2 separate regions of the Homo sapiens genome follow, and region 1 is linked to region 2. Evidence: promoter capture Hi-C in 16 types of primary human blood cells and fetal thymus (Javierre and others, 2016). All regions are on one chromosome and are shown on one strand. The core of a region is centred on a gene start or on the middle of the fragment in contact, and the rest is flanking DNA. Distances in the headings are between cores, read along the strand shown.

Evidence for each region. The method cuts DNA at HindIII sites, captures the fragments that hold promoters and counts their contacts. A CHiCAGO score of 5 or more calls a contact.
Region 1: a contact is called between a fragment that was not itself captured here and the fragment with the promoter of LINC00892 in region 2, in 1 of 17 cell types (neutrophils). The highest score is 5.7, in neutrophils.

Annotation. Positions count from the first base shown.
Region 1 is chrX:136,944,082-136,946,781 of GRCh38, forward strand. No RefSeq gene overlaps it. Among named protein-coding and RNA genes, the nearest start is that of RBMX, 65 kb to the left of the region's middle. The HindIII fragment of the contact is 5,509 bases long and covers 1-2,700 here.
Region 2 is chrX:136,638,236-136,640,935 of GRCh38, forward strand. LINC00892 (long intergenic non-protein coding RNA 892) reads left to right here and starts at 1,308. Exons shown (of 3, transcript NR_038462.1): 1 at 1,308-1,569; 2 at 2,539-2,605. The HindIII fragment of the contact is 12,266 bases long and covers 1-2,700 here.

The DNA.
Region 1 (2,700 bases), core at 34-2,533, 310 kb after region 2:
AAATACAAAAATTAGTCAGGCGTGGTGGTGGATGCCTGTAATCCCAGCTACTCGGGAGGCTGAGGCATGGGAATCGCTTGAACCTGGGAGGTGGAAGTTGCAGTGAGCCGAGATCACGCCACTGCACTCCAGCCTGGGTGAAAGAGTGAGACTCCATCTCAAAATAAGAGACTCTGTCTTAAAATAAAATAAAACAATAAAATAAAAAGTTTTTCAGCTTTAAATAGAATTTATTCATTCTAGAAACACTTAAAAGGGCATATTATGTACCAGGCACTAGGGTTACAAAAATGAATAGAAAGAGATGCACATCAGTAATTTTTCCCAACTGTGAGTGAATGGTTTTATTATGCATACACATGTATAGACAATTCCATAAAGATTACCTATTATTCATTACACAGAAGCCAAGGGATAAATTGTATGCTGAGTAAGTAAATCAAAAGGGAAGCATCACTGTTTCTCCTTTTTATTTTTCTCCTATTTTTCCTTTATTCCTCTTTACATTTTGAGTAGTAAGTCTCCACATCCCTGACCAGGCATTTGCTAGCTGCATCACTCCTCTCTGATTTCAAACTTCTCTAGTTTGTTTCCATCTTCTATTTTTAAAGTTTTTTTCAGACAAAAAGGTCATGTAGATTATATTTTTGGTATCTTTCATTTCTAAGCATGCTGCTTTATACACAGTAGGCCCTCAAATCTTTGAGTGCTTATAAATATGATTTTTGCTTCATCTAATTCTCTAGACATGCAGTTAAGATTACAGGATGGGTTACTTAGTATATTGAAAAAGAATGATATGAAATATGAAAAACAAAGCCATTTAAAAGATATTCATGACACTCTAGTGCTTTACTTGCCCCTGGACCAGATGTTTGTGTTCATGGGTCAGTGACTCTTAGCTCCGGACTGTATTAGTGGTGCTTCACCAAAGGACTGATTTCAGGCTATTCTTTTAATAGGGAAAACCCTTTATGACTATGTAGATCTATGTATTTCCATTTTTAGTCTTTTTTAGACTGTGTATCATATATATATATTTGTATACGTGTGTGTGTGTGTGTGTGTGTGTGTGTGTATATATATATATATATTTATTTTTTTTTTGAGATGGAGTCTCACTCTGTTGCCCAGGCTGGAGTGCAATGGCATGATCTCAGCTCAGTGCAACTCTGCCTTCCGGGTTCAAATGATTATCCTGCCTCAGCTTCCCAAGTAGCTGGGATTACAGGCACCTGCCCCCATGCCTGGCTAATTTTTGTATTTTTTTTTTTAGTAGAGATGGGGTTTCACCATGCTGGCCAGGCTGGTCTCAAACTCCTGACTTTAGAGGATCCGCCCGTCTCGGCCTCCCAAAGTGCTGGGATTACAGGCGTGAGCCGCTGTGCCCAGCTGGATATCATATTTTTGATCCAGGTTTTGTTACACTCAGTTTCATCTAAGGCTTATTTTTTATAGCTTCAGATATTCTTTCCTGAGACCAAACCCTAATTACTGTATTTGGGGCTAGGTCTCAAATCTCGAAAATTTACAAATTGTGCTTGGTTTGTGTCATTTCTGTAGATGGCCTGACAGCCATTATAAAATGATTCTTCCTAATCTCATTCTGAAAGCAATTCCACATTAGGAATACCTCGCTTTTGTCCCTATGTATCACCTTTAGTGGTTATCTCCATTTTATAAATGAGGCTACTGAAGCCCAGCAAGCTCAAGTAATTTTCTCAGGTTCACAGCTAGCAGGTGGTGCAAGTGATATTCAAAACCATGTCTGTCTGGCCCCCAAACTCAGTTTTTCTACTATACCATTCTGGCTTTCTTTCTTAAGGGTCTATTATATTTTCTGCCTCAGAGTCACTGTAAAGAAAATGAGAACCATTTATGTTAGAAATGTGTGTGTGTGCCTTGAATCATCTAGCTAGAGGTCAGGATTACTTGATCCTACATCCTGTAGTTTACCCAAAGTACGATTGGTGAAAACAGGCAATTTACTAGTCCAATAAGTATAGTCCAGTCTTCTAATCTTTGGATGAAATACAGAAGTGTAATCTGAGGAAAGGAATGAAATGCACTCTGAAGGGGCCGGGCATTGTGGCTCGTACCTGTAATCCCAGCACTTTGGGAGGCAGAGACGGGCGGATCACCTGAGGTCAGGCGTTCGAGACCAGCCTGACCAACATGGTGAAACCCCATCTCTACTTAACATACAATAATTAGCCAGGCATGGTGGCAAGTGCCTGTAGTCCCAGCTACTTGGGAGGTTGAGGCAGGAGAATCGCTTCAACCTGGGAGACAGAGGTTGCAGTGAGCCGAAATCACGCCATTGTACTCCAGCCTGGGTGACAGAGTGATACTGTCTCAAAAAAAAAAAAAACAAAAAAAGTGAAATGTACTCTGAAGACATTTAATAAACCTTTCTTCAGCTACTGAGAATAGAATACTATTCAAAGTCTAAGCTATTATCATAAGTTGATTGAAAGCTGAGGTCCTTATACATTTTTGTCAGTTATCAATCAGTTATTAAACATTTAAATGTAAGGACTTTTATTCTTATAGTAAAAACCACAGGAAAACACATCTAAATTGAAGTTCGGATTCATATCAGGAACCTACATAATATGGTGCTAGTGGTCTGTCAGGAAGCAACTGTAGCCATCAAAAAAAGCCATACCAGGCCGGGCGTGGTGGCTGACGCTTGTAATC
Region 2 (2,700 bases), core at 58-2,557:
GTAGACACATCTCTCCAATCCCTGCCTCTGTTTTTGCATGGCTGTTTTCCCTCTGTGTTTGTCTGTGTTCAAATTTCCCTCTTCTTATAAGATCACTAGTCATTGAATTAGGGCCCACCTTAATTCAGTTTGACCTTATATTAATTTCACTAATTACATTTACAAAGTATTTCCCCCCCAAAAAAGTCACATTCACAGGTGCCACATGGGCATGAATTTGGGGAGGGGAACACTGTTCAACCCAGAACAGATATCAACCCTACTGCTTATTTGAAACTGCTTCAGATGTGGTTGGTTCCCCGATGTCAGGGGAGAGAGAGGGCTCCAGGCATCAGCCACCCTGTGACAAGGAGTACCAGGACATCCTTCTCCTCAAAGTCAGAAAACATCCTGATGTCAAAGATACGGGCTATTGAGTTATATGTGGAAGTGCTCTAGTGGAAACTGTCCCAGGTCCACGCTTACCAAGATGGCGCAGTTCACCATGGGGCACTGTGATGAAGAAAGATTCCCAACTCCACTTATTCACAGGGGAACACCCGTGCCACAATAGCTATCAAAGGTTGTGGTAATTGTTTTCCAATTATCTACCTGTGGGCAAAAATTAACATGGGTGCAGAGCATGGAGGGGAACTTTTAGCTACTACTCATAAGCACTTTAGGGACACTCTCAACTTATTTTTACAAAACTGGAACTGGGCCGGTTGCAGTGGCTCACACCTGTAATCCCAGCACTTTGGGAGACCGAGGCAGGCGGATCGCCTGAGGTTAGGAGTTCAAGACCAACCTGGCCAACATGGCAAAACCCCGTCTCTACTAAAAGTACAAAAATTAGCTGGGCGTGGTGGCAGGTGCCTGTAATCCCAGCTACTCAGGAGGCTGAGGCCGGAGAATCGCTTGAACCTAGGAGGCAGAGGTTGCAGTGAGCCGAGATCATGCCACTGCACTCCAGCCTGGGCAACAAGAGTGGAACTCTGTCAAAAAAAAAAAAAAAAAAAAAAAACTGGGGACATCCTATTTCTGCCATGATATTTGCACTATCAGTGTATCACAGGGGTCCTTCTAAGCCAGTAATATACTTCTGTACCAAAATGTATTTAACTAGTAATCCTAAATCTTTTGATAAAGCCCTTCCATTTCTCTTCCACCCCTGTGGTCCCTGTGGTACATCTTGTGCTGAAAGATTACCTTCTACTCAAATCTTAACTATTTTACTGAATCTCTCCACCTCCTTTTGCACCCCTTGACTCAGCCAGGAAAAAAATATATATATATATATATTTCCTGCCCCTGGCGTTTCCTTAATCAGATGCAGACATGGCTGGATGTTCTTTGCTGGGCTGCTGAGTCAGAAGCCTGGACGGGCCAGCTTCAGTTTTAATGAAGTGGCTCAGGAAGGAAGTGCTAACAGAGATGGGTGCACAGTGCAGTCAGTGGGTGGGAGCTGATGCTGGCTAGAAGACCTGAGTCTTCCGAGAGGCAGCTTGATTCCTGGAAAAGACTACTGGGCTGGAAGTCAGGAGGCCTGGGGTACTCTCAGCTCTGCCGCTAACATGCTGCATGACCATGGTAAGTCATTGCCTTTCTCCGAGCCTCAGTGAGAAACAGCGGGCCTGGCCCCAGAAGACACTGTGGGAGAACTAGAGGTCTTCTGCGTCAGGCCCCCACTAAGAAGGCAGTCTCCTGTGAGGATACCTAAGAGATGAGTTAGAAGCAGAGGGCACATTTCACAAACAGCCCCCAAGGGGTTGTCAGGAACAGACCACAGGAAGAATCAGAGAGACAGAAATTGCCCAAGCCTGTGGTCTGAACTGAAGAGGGCAGCCTGGAGGACACCAGTTAGAAGTTGGAAAGAGAGAGAGAGAGCCCTGAATGAGTTAAGTCAAGAAGAAGGATCATGGTAGAGGTAAATTGCAGGGTAGGCGGGGAAAGGCTGTGGAGAGGGGTTTCTGGGCAGTGGAGCCAGGAGCTAGCCTACTAAAGTCCTGGAGCTCTAGGGGAGATGCAGAAAGCAGGCTGAGGCCAGGCATGGTGGCTCACGCCTGTAATCCCAACAGTTTGGGAGACCAAGGTGGGCAGATCACTTGAGGCCAGAAGTTCCAGACCAGCCTGGCCAGCGTGGTGAAACCCTGTCTCTACTAAAAATACAAAAATGAGCCAGGCGTGGTGTGCATACCTGTAATCCCAGCTACTCAGGAGGCTGAGACATGAGAATCACTTGAACCTGGGAGATGGAGATTGCAGTGAGCAGAGATCGCGCCATTGCACTCTAGCCTGGCGACGCAGCAAGACTCTGTCTCAAAAAAAAAAAAAAAAAAAAAAGGCAGGCTGAGACTAGAGCAAGGGAGGTTTAAAAAAATGGACTAGAACCACACAGACAAGTCTTAAATGTTCAATCATGTCAGGCTGATATTTGAAGGAAAACAGGTGCCAACTATGTGCCCACCTGCAGAGCATGCCATCCCTGAGACCCTTCACCGTGGAAGAAAGGGAACTTTTTGTTCTATAAACACCTGATATTTCATGTTCCACATTAAGGGCTGACTGGAGAACCTGAGGTGCTGTGCAGAGACCAGAGGAAGGCTTTGATCCCAAGCCTGCAGCCGTAAGAGAAGAACGAGCCCATGAGTTCCAGCCTGTGGGTCCTTCCACATGCTAGTTCCTGTACCTGGAATGTATTCTTTCCTGACCCAGAAAATT